Regions from separate parts of the Homo sapiens genome. Here region 2 is linked to region 1. The links are contacts of gene promoters, found by promoter capture Hi-C in blood cells and fetal thymus (Javierre and others, 2016). All regions are on one chromosome and are shown on one strand. Each heading gives the region's core, a stretch centred on a gene start or on the middle of the fragment in contact. The rest is flanking DNA. Distances are from core to core; before and after follow the strand shown. Region 1 holds the start of ENTPD3-AS1 (ENTPD3, EIF1B and MYRIP antisense RNA 1). Region 2 overlaps KIF15 (kinesin family member 15).

Evidence for each region. The method cuts DNA at HindIII sites, captures the fragments that hold promoters and counts their contacts. A CHiCAGO score of 5 or more calls a contact.
Region 2: a contact is called between a fragment that was not itself captured here and the fragment with the promoter of ENTPD3-AS1 in region 1, in 1 of 17 cell types (neutrophils). The highest score is 6.4, in neutrophils.

Annotation. Positions count from the first base shown.
Region 1 is chr3:40,452,058-40,459,617 of GRCh38, forward strand. It overlaps ENTPD3-AS1 (ENTPD3, EIF1B and MYRIP antisense RNA 1), which reads right to left and starts at 1,251. Exons shown (of 4, transcript NR_040100.1): 1 at 1,065-1,251. RPL14 (ribosomal protein L14) reads left to right here and starts at 5,282. Exons shown (of 6, transcript NM_001034996.3): 1 at 5,282-5,417; 2 at 5,833-5,934; 3 at 6,585-6,679. The coding sequence starts at 5,415. RefSeq lists enhancers at 985-1,054, 1,075-1,144, 5,081-5,375 and silencers at 5,518-5,567, 6,781-7,075. The HindIII fragment of the contact is 7,917 bases long and covers 57-7,560 here.
Region 2 is chr3:44,764,044-44,771,603 of GRCh38, forward strand. All of the region lies in intron 1 of KIF15 (kinesin family member 15), which reads left to right. Among named protein-coding and RNA genes, the nearest start is that of KIF15, 6.0 kb to the left of the region's middle. The HindIII fragment of the contact is 3,204 bases long and covers 3,338-6,541 here.

The DNA of each region.
Region 1 (7,560 bases), core at 1-2,500:
ACCTAAGTCACTTTAACACAGAGATACAGCTTCAATTTACAAGCAGCCAGTTGCAAAGCTTCAGAAAAGGTTTTCAAAAAAACAGGACAATGGGTCCACTCTGCAGTCTAGGCCTGATGTTGACCCTTTTTCACAGTCCTGCTTTGTTTTGAGGCTATTAAAACCCTGCTTCATTTAAGTTCCATCTAAACTTTACACTTCCTCAAAATCCTGTAACTTTATATTTTCCTTCCCCTGGTAAAATGTCCCATGGTGTCTCTGGTGTGCAATCTCCCTCATTAAAAAAGATCGATAGACCTGGTTTTGCTGACTACAGGTTTGTCCCTGGTGGTCTTAGGCTGACTGGGCTTGAACAGTCTTGCTCAGCTTCAGGGTTCCTAAGATTGCAAATTTCAAAAACTGATACAACAAACATTTTTTCACTCCTAAATACAAATGCACCTGTCCACGTTGCCAGGTAGTTATGCACATGGCTACCATGTCAATTTGGTCATAACTAGGGTTAGGTCACTTCTCTGGAAGGTTAGTTATTAAGAACAAGAAAGAAAGTCAGGGTTCTGCACAGCTTTTGGTTTGATTCTTGTACTGACTTATGTTTCTTTTTCTTTGGGGCTACAGGTAAATATTTTGTCTGCTAAACTGACGCCCCCATCGCCAGTGTCTGAACAAACAAAACTGAGACATATCTAGTCAGCTGAAGCTGACAAATACAGGGGCCAATCTGGTTACAGGCAGGCAGTCCTGGCCTCGTGACACCGCAGAGACTGTGGGACAAGTGGACGTGCTCCTACTGTCCCTCGCATCCCCCATCTGGGCCGCGGGACTAGTGCCCTCAGGTCTATGACCCACTGCAAGAACCCAAAGCTCGACGCCCGCCCAGCCCTTCACATCCGTCCCTTGCAACAAGCAAGAGAAGAGGGGCGCGGCTTCAGGGGACGGGCGACGGTTTACAGGACAGCTCGTACACAGTACCAGCTGACATCCCCTAAGCCTGAGTGTCTAGGCCCCTGCCTCCACATTTAAGAGCCGACTGCGCCCCTTGGTGATTGGACGTCCGGACGCACCTTGAGTAGAGGCCAAGCAAACTATCGAGCCCGTCCAAAACGCCATATTTGTAACTGACGTCATCCTCATGTTGCCTTTCCTCTCTGTGATTGAGGAACCAATCAGTTGGGTGTAGCAGACGGGGCGTGGCTCTTCAGGTAGAGGCCGAAGGGGCTGAGAGCGGTCCCAGGCGGCCATCTTGATTCCTGGCATCACTCTCAACGTGCCCTCCCTCTCCGTGATTGGACGAGCAGGGCGGGCCTTCCGGAGGCACACAGCCGACCAACCAGAGATCTGCGCGTGCTCGATCTGGTCATCTGTTTTCTGACATCTGGAGCCACTAGCAGTTATCCTGTTCATTCCTGGGCGCCTGCGACCTTCCGAAGGAAACAAGACTTGCTTGGGGAAAGTTGCCTTGCCAGTATAGTGGAGCTTGGTAGAAACTTAAAAACTGCCTGGGGCTGCCTGGGATGGGGATCTCGAGATGCTTGTGGGGAGCACATTTTAGGAAACAGGGGGCTCAAGCTGCATGAAATGCTGCGGGAAATAGGAATGAGAGACGCAGAATGGTCGGAGAAAAAAGCTAGGAAGGTGTTTGGGAGTAAGATTTTGGAGTGCCTTGAATGCCAGACTAGGGAGTTTGGACTATATCCTGTAAGATAGGGGATAAAAATCAACTTTAAACAGGAGTGATATAACAAGATAATGTACTTTAGAAAATAATTCTGTAACTGTAGGGGGAGTCCCAAAGTGTTTCTCAAATTGTGTTCGGGGAAGTTCAAAGTGTGTTTGAGAGCTTGTTTTTATATGCAGATTCTTGCCCCTCACCAGACCTGCAAATAAAGTTCTCTGGTTGTACAGCCAGGAAACTGCATTAAAAAAAAACTTTTTAGGTTAACATACATTTGGTGAGAAAACGCATAAACCATATGGATAGGGCTCTGAATTTTCACAAGCAAACACTTCAGCCAGGCGGGGTGGCCCGTGCCCCTAATCCCAGCTACTCGGGAGGCTTAGGCAGGAGAATGGCTTGAGGCCAGGAGTACCAGATCAGCCTGGGCAACATAGCAAGACCCGTCTCTAAAAAAATTTAAAACAAAAATAATAACACACTCCCGTAGTTAACACCAGATGAAGAAACAACATGGCCAGCAGCTCAGAAGCTCCCCTTTTCCCCTTTAGCCACTGCTGCCTGCACCAAAGGTAAATATGATCATTACTTATAAGAACTGTAGATTAGTTTTGCCTGTTTTGAATTTGATATAAATAAAAGCATACAGGATATATTGTGTCAGCTTATTTGTTAGTGTTATTTATGAAATTCATCCGCATTGTTCCATGTAGTTGCTGTAGACTCCGTTGCTATAGATTGTTATCACAATTTATCCAGTCTCTTGTTTATGGGCCTTTGGGTAATTTCCAGTTTGGAGATAGTAGCAAAAAAAATGCTAAAATGAACATTCTTCTTCATTCATATCTTTTGCTTTGTAAATTATAAAGCAAGACAACAAGACCTAAAGACTGATTCATTCACTACCTATTTATTGAGCCCCTTACCAGACTAAGGTGAGAAAATAAAACAGAAAAGACAGCAAAGGTCCTGCCCTCATGGAACTTATTCTAACTGGAACGAAACAACACCTACGTGGGCAGCAAAACAAGTCAAACAATTGCAATTGTGATAACTCTGAGGGAAACAAGGTGAGCTAGAAAAAGAAGGGTGGGGACTTAACCTTTTTTTATGTGGTAGCCTGGTTAACTCTCAGAAAAATATCTAGGAAAAAATACAAGAGATAAGTTGGCACTGCTACACGATGAGTATTAACAATGGGTAGACCATTCCTGGCAAGAGAGACACCATGTATAAAGGTCATGGAGGAGGAGAGAGCTTGGCCCATTCAAGACCAGTGTGGCTTCAACACAATGAAGGAGGGATGGCATAAGGTGTATCTGGGTATTAAAGCATATGATACAAGGCCAGAGTAAGAAGTTGAGATTTTATTCCAAATATTATGAAAAGCAATCGAACTGTTAAAAACAGGAAATAATGTGATCTGATTTACTTACTTAAAAGATCCCTCTAACTGCTGAGCAGAGAACAGATTAAAGACAGAATTTAGGAGGCTGCTAGAGCAGTCTCAGGGAAGATATGCTGGCATAGAGCTTAGAGGAAAGGCTTGAAATACATCTGGGAACTGTCATGGCAAAGATCATCACCTTAATCAAGTGATAAAAGGTAACACCTCTCTGCACTGGCCTGGGTAAAAATCTAAAGAATAAAATACCACCACAATATTGGGAACCCATGTGTGGTGGTGTATTCCTGTAGTCCCAACTATTCTGGAGGCTGAAGCAGAACTGCTTGAGCCCATGAGTTCAAGGCTGTAGCAGGCTACAATCAGACCTGTGAATAGCTACTGCACTCCAGCCTGGGCAACACAGCCAGACCCCATCTCTTCGAAAAAATGTATATGTGTGTGGCCAAGCACAGTGGCTCACGTTTGTAATCCTAGCACTTCTGGGAGGCTGAGGCAAGTGAATCACAAGGTCAGGAGTTCAAGACTAGCCTGGCCAAAATGGTGAAACCCTGTCTCTACTTAAAACACAAAAATTAGCCGGGCGTGGTGGCAGGCACCTGTAATCCCAGGTACTTGGGAGGATGAGGCAGAGAACTGCTTGAACCCGGGAGGCAGAGAACTGCTTGAACCTGGGAGGCAGAGGTGGCAGTGAGCCGAGATCGCACCACTGCACTCCAGCCTGGGTGACAGAGGGAGAGTCCATCTCAAAAAAAGAAAGAAAAAAAAAAGTGTTTGTGTGTGCGTATATATATAGAGAGAGAGAGAGTGAAGAGAGAGAGAATGTATTCTGATGTGATGCACCAAGGACATAGCATTTCTACCAAAAATTCACTATCTGAATCCAATGAGGAAAACTCCAACAAACCCATGTTACAAATTTAACAGTTAAATCTAAAACTATCAGTTAAAGACTAGAGACCTGATAAATAATTGCAATTTGTAATCCTCCATTAGATCAAGAGCCTGGAAAAACAATTTTTTTTCCCATTTGCTCCAAGGAACATAGGAGCAACAACTTATAAATTTGAATAAGGACTGAAGGTTAGATAATAGTACTATTGCAATATCAATTTCCTGATTTTGATAAGTGTACTGATGACATAAGAGAATCTCTCTGTTGTTAGGAAATACACATTTTAAGAACGTATAGATAGGCTGGGCATGGTGGCTCACGCCGGTAATCCCAACACTTTGGAAGGCCGAGACGAGAGGATCGTCTTCACTCAGAAGTTAGAGGCTGCAGGGAACCATGATCGCGCCACTGCACTCCAGCCTGAGCGACTGAGGGAGACCCTGTCTCTATAAAAGAATGTAACGCCAGGCACGGCGGCTCACGCCTGTAATCCCAGCACTTTAGGAAGCTGAGGGAGGCAGATCACGAGGTCAGGAGTTCGAGACCAGCCTGGCCAACATAGTGAAACCCTGTCTCTACTAAAAATGCAAAAAAATTAGCCGGCCATGGTGGCGCGCGCCTGTAGTCCCGGCTACTTGGGAGGCTGAGGCTGGAGAATCACTTGAACCCGGGAGGCGGAGGTTGCGGTGAGCCAAGCCCCCGCCACTGCACTCCAACCTGGGCAACAGACCGAGACTCCGTCTTTAAAAAAAAAAAAATGTAGCGATAGAAGGACATCATGTCGGCAATTTCCTTTCAAATGATATAGCACATGCAAAACGTTAACATTTGTGGAATCTAGAAGGGTTTGTGGGAATTATTTGTACTAGTTTAGCAATATTTCTGTAACTGTGAATTACTTGAAAATGAAAGGTTAACAAAGTTACTGAGATTAGGAGAGAACGTGAGGAGCGAACAGACCTAGCCATGAATAACCAACAAATAAAACTCGAGGAAATAAAAAGGAACTCAAATGGCATGCGACCAACGGAAGACATAGCTTCTGTACTCTTAACCCTAAATTACTAAGCGATGACCCTCCTGCAGCTTTCTAATCCAAATCACCAAAAACAATCTCGCCGCCCAACTTTGCCAAAAAGCAACTTAACGCCAGCCGACTCCGCCATGTTTTCCCAGTGAGCTTGCGAGCGCGTGCGTACGCACGCACGCACGCACGCACCAACCAATCGGTGCTCACGTCGGTGACTCGTTACCGCAGGGGCGGTGCGTTCTTCTACACATGCGCAGGGTTGGGCGGGTCTTCTTCCTTCTCGCCTAACGCCGCCAACATGGTGAGTCTTACTGTTGCGGGCTCCGGGGCCGTCGACCATGCCGCTCGACCTCCACCTCCGCTGGGAAGCTGAGGCGCCAAACGGCTCCCAGAGGGTCCCGGGAAGCGCATGGTGAGGGTCCCCGGGCCGGCTGTGCAGCGGAATCGGGCCCTTCCCGGACTCGCGCCCTTCCCGGACTCGCCGCTGGCGAGCGCGTGGAGGGCCCGGCAGGCCTGGCGCGCCTTGGGCCACGCGTGCGCGCCTCCGCCGCTGGAGCTGGATGGCTGATGCGGCTCGTGGTCCGAGAGCCTTGTCCTGCCGTGTGGGCCTTGCGGACCTGGGAGCTGGCGGGCGTTGGGAACCGGGCTTAAGCTACTGAGGCGTTTGCTGATTTCGTCCATCCAGGTTGGCGCCTGGCTCTCGGGCGTTTGTTCCCTGCAGCATTCTTTTTCGCTGAATTTAACCATGTTGTCTTTAGCTGCAGAAGGTGACATATGTAGCGAGTATTTCTAAGTAAGTTTCACTGTCCTTTCTCCTCCAATTTTAGGTGTTCAGGCGCTTCGTGGAGGTTGGCCGGGTGGCCTATGTCTCCTTTGGACCTCATGCCGGAAAATTGGTCGCGATTGTAGATGTTATTGATCAGAACAGGGTAAGTGTCACAACTTTTTACTAAACATGGCAGTGGACATGTGCCCTGCAGATGGCAATAATGAATTGTCTCGATGGCTGTGTAAGATGAGGATGCTATGGGTAGTCGCTTTATTTTACCATTGAGGAAACAGGTAATGGTACGGGTTTTAAGCACAGCCTGAAGTTAGCTATTAGTATTGAATTTCAGTATTAGCCACTTAAGCTAGAGCCAGTTATAGGCTGAAACGTTGGTTAGTTTTAAATGAGTTACTATACGTAAAGTGAGTTTAGAACAGATCCAGCACGTAGAAAGCACTTTTGTATTTACTGCTGTGTATTTGAAACAAGCAAACTAAGGAGTTGACCACTGACTATAAATCAGCAGGGATCAGAGTCCTAAAGTTGCCTGTAAATTACATGTGGTTGGTTTCTATGGGGTACTATATAGTTTAAGAAGGAGCATTTAATGATGTGGAGAAATGTTTGTGTTGAGCAAAAGACATACATATATATAACCCAGATAGGACAATCCTTGTCTTTTCTGAGCAATTTATTAAAATAGTAGTGTGGGTTTGATGGCCCTGAACGGATAAGTAATGTTACAGAACCATCTGACCATTTTAATTGCTGTTAGATTTTGCACTGAAGTTCTTGATGTTTGTGTTCTAGGCTTTGGTCGATGGACCTTGCACTCAAGTGAGGAGACAGGCCATGCCTTTCAAGTGCATGCAGCTCACTGATTTCATCCTCAAGTTTCCGCACAGGTAACTGTCCACTAATCACTCCTCCCTCCCATCCCCAGATTTGTTTATGCTAGTAAAAGTTTGTTTTGGAGTAAACAATACGGAAGATTCAGAGCCATCCTGAAGAGGGATTTGCATCATAGAAGTAGACAGGGATTATTTACTTTTAAAATGTCTTGCCTGCGCGTGATAGCTCATGCCTGTAATCCCAGTACTTTGGGAGGCCACGGTGGGAGGGTCTCTTGAGCCCAAGTTTCAAGACCAGCATGGGCAACATGGCGAAAACCCCCATCTCTACAAAAAATAAAAAAAAAATTCGTTGGGCATGGTGGCACGCGCCTGTAATCCCAGGTAGGGGGGCCTTGGGGGTGCTGAGTTGGGAGGATCGTTTTAGCGAGGTCGAGGCTGCAGAGAGCCGTGATCATGCCACTGCACTCCAGCCTGGATGACAGAGTGAGACCCTGTCTCAAAAATAAATAAATAAAATAAATGCCTTGAGGTCACTTTTCTATCCTGGTAGTTTAGGGCTTTGCCTTTGTTTAGATTTGCCATCTTCTTTTCTTCTGGTTTCTGCCAAATTTTTAGCTTAAAGTAAACAACAATACTAAGTCTTGTGTTTATTGCTACTAGCTATCATTAGATAAGCTCTCAGTGTGTGTCAGTTACACAGTATTTAATATAAGAGGTTTTATCCCTAGCTTACATTTAAGTGAGGCAGTGAATAGCAGTTCTTTTTTGACATGAAAATTAAAACACTTTAGTGTGTTGCTATACAGTTAATTCAACCCACAATGATGGTTGCAGTGGAACATGTAATTTTGCATGCTTTAAAAAATAGTCAAAAACTTGCTGTATGTTGGCCGGGCGCGGTGGCTCACGCCTATAATCCCAGCACTTTGGAA
Region 2 (7,560 bases), core at 3,690-6,189, 4.3 Mb after region 1:
CTAGACTGCAGAGTAAAGCATCCAATGGTCTGTTTTAAAGCAGGAAGACTCTTTAAAAGACTTACTGTTTTGTTGAGGTATAGCTTCATGCAGTTAAGGGCACAAATCTTAATATTATTCAACAAATTTTTACATATAAATACACTAATGTAACCACCATCCAGATCAAGAAATAGAACTGTTCCTGTACTCCAGAAAGTTCCCTGTGACCCTTCCTAGTCAATAACTACCTGATCCCCAACCATTACTCTGATTATTATTATCACTGATTAGTTTTGCTTCTATTCTTGAACTTAATATAAATGGTACAGTATGTATTCTTTTTTTATTCTGGTTTCTTCAACTGAACATTATGTCTGTGATCATTGTCCATCATTGTATGTAGCAGCAGTTCTTTTTCATTGCTGTGTAGTGTTCCATTATGTGAGTATACCATGATTTGTTTATTCTCCTGTTGATTGACATTTGGGTTTTTATTATAGTTAGGGCTGTTATGAATAAAGCTACTGAGAATAGACTTAAGCATATTTTTAGATGGACACATAGAGGACCTCAAAGTTGAAAGAATTTTACAGTGAATGCCTATAGACTTCATTTTTTTCTTTTCTTTTTTGAGACAGAGTCTTGCTCTGTCACCCAGGCTGAAGTGCAGGGGTGCGATCTTGGCTCACTGCAACCTCCATCTCTGTTCAAGTGATTACTCCTGCCTCAGCCTCCTGAGTAGCTGGGACTACAGGCAACCACCACCAAGCCTGGCTATTTTTTATATTTTTAGTAGAGGCAGGGTTTCACCATATTGGCAAGGCTGGTCTCAAACTCCTGACCTCAAATGATCCACCCACCTTGGTCTCCCAAAGTGTTGGGATCACAGGTGTGAGCCACTGCACCCAGCCTAGACTTCCTTTAAATGTCAAAATTTTATGACAGCCACATGATAAACTTTTATACTCTCTTTAACCTTTGATCAAGAGGTAGCATATTGAGGTGGTTAAGAGTAGGAGATCTGGATTTAGCATGCCTTCGTTCAAATCCTAGCACTTCTCAATGATGTTTCCTTAGATCTCAATTAGAAATAATGCCAGAACTATCTACATTTGTGTAGTTTTAAATTTCACTTTCTCTCGCTATTTGCTTATTAACTTTTCTTCTTTTTTTATCAAGTAAACATTTTACTTTGGGTTCCTTTTAGATTTACCAGAAAGTTGCACATAAGTGCAGATCAGTATCCATCTAATCATTTTCCATCTGATCAGTTACAGAGATCTCTGCAGAAATGAAGAGCTGGCAGCCTACCTTCTGGGGCTTCTTATTGTTGTTTGCTTGTGTATTTGCTTAGCAACTGGCTGGATCAATTTAGTGAAGTCTATTTCCCTCCTATACTGTTAAGCCTTTGATATTGCTCCTCAGGAATCCAAAGCTCCAGCTTTGGATATGCCCACCTTTATCCTGGGATGACAGTGGTTTTGGTAGGGATCTCTTTCTTTCTATGACTGCACACAGCTGTTAAACTCCAGTAATTGTTAGCTGATTGCTCTATTGTTTTTTAACAATGCCCTGGGCATAAATTGTCTTACAAACTACTTCAATTCTTGCTCCATTGAAGGAGTAGTTTTTGAGGTTTTCTTTCATATTTCTTGTGACTCCAGTGTAGCTACTCCTAATTGTCTTATATCCCCATTGTCTTCTGCAAGTGAACAGGCCTGCAATTTAGCTTGTATCTTGAATGTCTTCCTAATTACTTTCACTAAAACCTACACTGTTCCTGAGAGTGCCCTTAGGTTTGAACTTCTCTCCACCCCCTCTCCCCCAGACGGAGTCTCGCTCTGTCACCTAGGCTGTACCACAGTGGCGTGGACTCAGCTCACTGCAACCTCCACCTCCTGAGTTCAAGCGATTCTCCTGCCTCAGCCTCCCAAGTAGCTGAGATTACAGGCATGTGCCACCATGCCCAGCTAATTTTTGTTTTGTATTTTTAGTAGAGAGACGGGGTTTCACCATGTTGGTCAGGCCGGTCTCAAACTCCTGACCTCAAATGATCTACCTGCCTCGGCCTCCCAAAGTGCTGGGATTACATCATGAGCCACCACACCTAGACAGGTTTGAACTTCTCTATGCTTTGTTGCAAATGAATTCAGCTCCTTTGGGAAGAGATTAGGAGTTATCTGTTTATGGGCTGATTCTTCCTTTAGGCAAAATCTCAGAGCCTGGGGACTTGAGTTGGGGATGGGGATAATGGCAGTCTTGTCTCTGAGTGATACCCTTTGTAGTTGCTGAGCATTTTGTGGGGAAGGTGGGGAGTGTAGCAGCCCACCTTCTAGACTTTCCTTTCCTTGTGCAGAACCACTGCCTAATGAGTTGGGGCAAGGGTGATCAGGGCCCCAGTGTTCTTAGCATGCAGTTGCAAGATGAGGGCTGTGTGGGAGAAGGGAGAGCCCTCACCTCTCAACCACACTTGTCTGGGACTTTATCTGAGCATCAGGTAGCTAGCTGGAGACACAATGATACACTGACATCCTGCTACTCTGTGGAGGAACCCCTTGCAATTAGGAGCTGGAGGGATCCCTGTGTTCTTGGCTGCTGCAATCTACAGTGGAGTGTTTGCCTTGCTGAGATGGGAGGGAGACAGCAATCTTGTTTCAAATAACACAGGATCAACTTTCTTGATGAATTTTCATGAATGTTCTTGAACAGATGTTTCTTGGTTTGCTGTTTGTCTTTGGGAACATTTCCAGAGGCTTTAATTTTCTTTTCTTTTCTTTCTTTCTTTTTTTTTTTTTTTTTTTTTGAGATGGAGTCTCACTCTGTCTCCCAGGCTGGAGTGCAGTGGCGTGATCTCGGCTCACTGCAAGCTCCGCCTCCTGGGTTCACGCCATTCTCCTGCCTCAGCCTCCTGGGTAGCTGGGACTACAGGCGCCTGCCACCATGCCTGGCTAATTTTTTGTATCTTTAGTAGAGACGGGGTTTCACCGTGTTAGCCAGGGTGGTCTCGATCTCCTGACCTCGTGATCCGCCCGCTTCGGCCTCCCAAAGTACTGGGATTACAGGTGTGAGCCACCGTGCCCGGCCAACTTTCTTTTTTTAAATTTCACCAGTTTCACTGGGGAGTGGGTCAGTGGAATTCCTCATAATGTCATGTCAGAAGTCAATCTCTGAACTCTTTTTTAACAGAATTATTCTGCCCGCTAGGTTGAGAAAAGATGAGAGTGGGGGAGAAAGAGAAGCAGAAAGACTATTGTAATAACACAATAAAGAGATATTGCTGGCTTGGTTCTACACTGTGGCAGTGGATTTGGCAAGAAGTTGTTGGATTGTGGGTATATTTTGAAATTAGAGCCAAAGCTTTGCTGAGATTGGATACGAAGAGTGAGAAAGAACAGGGTCAGGGATGACTATATGGTTTTTGGCCTAAGCAACTGGAAAGATGGAGTTAACGGAGATGTAGAAACACATTTGGGCTAGAGGTGGGGTGATCAGGAGCTCAATTTTGGACACATTAAATTTGATTCATTGCCCACTGCATATCCAGTTAGAGATATCAAATAGGTAATAAGTTGTAAGAGTGTGGAGCTCGGCTGGGCGTGGTGGCTCACGCCTGTAATCCCAGCACTTTGGGAGGCCGAGGCGGGTGGATCATGAGGTCAGGAGATGGAGACCATCCTGGCTAACAAAGTGAAACCCCGTCTCCACTAAAAATACAAAAAATTCTCAGGGCGTGGTGGCAGGCCCCTGTAGTCCCAGCTACTCCGGAGGCTGAGGCAGGAGAATGGCATGAGCCCGGGAGGTGGAGCTTGCAGTGAGCGGAGATTGCGCCACTGCACTCCAGCCTGGGCAACAGAGCGAGACTCCATCTCAAAAAAAAAAAAAAAAAAAAAGGAGTGTGGAGCTCAGGACAGCAGTCCAGGAAGGTTTAAATTTGTGAATCATCAATTTGTACCTAGTATTTAAAAACAGGCCAGGCATGGTGGCTCACTACTGTAATCCCAGCACTTTGGGAGGCCAACGCGGGCAGATCACAAAGTCAGGAGATCAAGACCATCCTGGCCAACATGGTGAAACACCGTCTCTACTAAAATACAAAAAATTAGCCAGGCGTGGTGGTGCACCCTGTAGTCCCAGCTACTTGGGAGGCTGAGGGCAGGGGAATTGCTTGAATCTGGGAGGTGGAGGTTGCAGTGAGCCAAGATCGTGGCACTGCACTCCAGCCTGGTGACAGAGCAAGACTCCGTCTCAAAAAAAAAAGAAAAGAAAAGAAAAAAAAAACCACTGATGCAAGATTTTTTGCTCCTTAGCTCAGCTAAAATCCAAGTTCGTGTTGCATGACCAGGAAAAATCAGGCACGCGGACACATCGAAAGATGAGGAGAGTGGAATTTATTAAAAGGAAGCTCTCAGTGAAAAAAAGTGTGATACACCAGCTGAAGAGGCCAGGCTTCTCCCCCTGCATAAGGTGCAAATTCCCAGTGGCTCCACTCCATTCTCCCAGGGCGCATGTGGGCCTTTAGTCTGAGCCACTCCACATTGATTTATTTTCCTTACTGCGCATGTGTTAAGGGACAGAATTTTTCAGTGACCCGGCAGGCGTTTGGCTGTCTCCTGTCTCTATCATTCCCCACTCTAAAGAAGTACATCTAACTGCCCTTAGAATAAAGATAAGGACAAAGACCAATCTTAACTGCTTCCTGCTGACAGGGGGTGCTGTGTTGGGAAAATGGCAGTCAGATTTCCCTAAGAGGCCAATCTAAAGGTTCCTGGCAAAAGGGACCATTATCTGAGGCTCCAGTTGCACGACTGGAGTTTGATGACCTGAAGGCGAGAAGAGACAAACTGAGTTATTAGAAAACATGTATCAAAACAAAACAAGGATGGGGTAAGGACAGAAGTCATGCCAGAAGTCATGCTCGAAAATCCCGAGGCCTTTTACTGGTTTGCACAGGGAGAGGGAGGCCAAAAGCCTGATTGTTAAAAGTTAAAAAAAATTTTTACCCTTTTGCTGGCTTGTCAGTCTTCGAGGTTCCCTTCCCCCAAGCCCAGTCCTAAGCTATTCTCAAGTTTAAGGTTTGGGAAATTAACTTTTCGCAGTTTAGAGGATGGATCCAAGGGGAGTGTGCTGTAGTAAGGAGACACAATTACCTATCTGTGAAGAGAGGACACAAGGGGAAAAGGAAAAAAGAAGGTGTTTTTTTCAAAGGAGTCCCAGGGGTTCAGGATGTATTCAAAAAGGCCACAGACTGAAGATGAATGGCAATCCATCAAGAAAGAGGGGAGCAGGTGTCCCTGGTTCCTTTCTCTTCCTAGTGAATACCCAGGGTAGGTGAGGGAGGGAGAAAGTGACGTGCCCCTTTTCATTTCTTCTGTCCTTATATCCCCAAGACCTGGGTGATCATCAAAGGGTGCCACCCATGAATGTCAAAGCGGCTTTCCCCCATGTTAACAGGGCTTACCCACGTACGCCCTATCTCCCCTGCTGTCAGTAGCCTTCAAGTTCTCTAGACCTCATTTATGTCGTGGATACTAGCATGATGTTTATCCATGAAACAGGAGGCTTGGCTTAATCGGCAGGAGTTAGTCATGCTCACCTGTGCTGTGCTTTTTAACTTCTGTTACCGTCTGCTTCTGGATCCCTCAGATCCAGTTTTTTTTTTCTTAGGGCTTTGACCTGAAGTTGGGAATTGAGTTTGGGACCAAAAATATGTCTCAGGGGTTGTATGGACTCCTTATCATAAGCTGAATGCTAAGGTGAAGCTGTGAAAGGGGTCCTCCTCCAAGGGAAAGAAAAGGATGCCCTGTGACACACCCAGATAACTGGTGGCTATAGTTATGTTTGCTAAGATTTGGGTGCATGGAGCTTGGCTTTGGTTAGCTCCCTTGGTCTTACTTTCCCAAAAAGGAAACCTCTGGATGACAGGCACTGTATTTATTCCCACCACCTAGCAGGATTTGCAGGATAATTGCTTAGAACTAGAATATTGATTCAGATTTTTACATTACCCATCCCCCTTTGTTCCTTCTGGGCTGTAGTTGGAGATCTCTGGTTGGATCACAGGCATAAGCAGGGTTAGTTTTTAAACGAACTAGGCAAAAAACTTGAAAACAACTAGTGGGTCTAGAATTTAATGATGATAAGTTTTTAAACATAATTTATCTCTCTCCAGTCCTCAGTTTTCTTAAAAACAAACCATGATAGGACTGAGTTGTTTGCAAAATAGACTTTGGTCTTATACTTGGCTTGATTCTTTGCATGAAGTGCAGCAAGAATACTTATTTTTACAGAGGGCTTTTAGATTGGCTTTGATGGAACTCTATTCCACAAGGAATCTCAGATAGGACTTTCTAAAGCTGAACCCAGCTGTGGGTTTTTACCCTCAAATACCTGTGAGTTGGGTAAACTCCTCTCTTCTTGAGGTCCCAAGAGCATAGGGTTCCTGGGCCTGTTAAAAAGTGACACTTCTTACTCACCGCAGATTAGGAACCCTGTACAGGGACTGTGTAGGCAAGGTATGAGGCCAGTTTTCCCAAGGAGCTTTTATCAGTTCTGCAAGTCAAGCTTGACTCCTTAAAAGGAAGCATACCCTTCCAGTCAAAGGCCTTGGTAAAACAACTAGTGTCTTCAGTTGTGTCCTGTTGCAAAGAAAATGGAATCTTATTGCACTGATGCAAACAAATATATTGTCATAAGTTAAGTATACTCACAACTAGTTTCCAAATTCTGGAGAAGCCAGGCAGAGAGAGAGAGACAAACATGCTCCAAATTTTGTTCACAGGAGTATACCTTACTCAATTATTAAAGGCTGTAAATAGTTCAAAATAAGTTTCCTTCACTCTGAAAAACAAAGCAAGGATTGGCAATGGTCCAAGCGAAAGTCAAAAAGATTACTTCAGTTTTGTATTCATTAAGTCCATCCAGTTAACTCTTGTTTTGCTTGATATTCATGAACATTTCAGCTCTTCATGAGTCCTGTTTGTTTTTTCTTTATTCTAATGTCTCAATCTCCAAAGTTATCAGAAACCTGCATTTGAGAGCACCTATGAAAGTTCTATGGCTGATTATAAACCATCTTTTGAAGAGGATGAAAACAAGACAACAATTGTCTGTGAATAACAAAATGTCCAGGGTAGTTAGAGTCAGAAACAGAATTGACAAATAAATTTGGTTATCTCTGTGGTTTATAATAACTTAACATAACAACCTTAATTGTGATTGATAGCATATACTCATGATGGGGCCCTAAGATAATTTCTGATGGCCTGGGACTCCTCGGAAAAAACAGAAAAGGCACCACAGATTCCATTTTTATGGCCAGACACTAGAATTTTAGGAATCCTTTACAATTTTGGAACATATATTAATATTATTCCCTAAAATATAACCTGAAGAAGATTAAACATTATTTTGGCAATCCCATGTACCTAAACATGTCAGGTAATCCTGTTTACCTCTCTTCTGGATGTGTCAGGGGCCCTCTGTAGCATCCAAAAGCCAGGTGTCAGGAAAGACAATTTTGAAACTGAAGTTTGATTTTGGGAAGCCTGTTGAATATGTTAGAGGTTTAAAACATTTGAT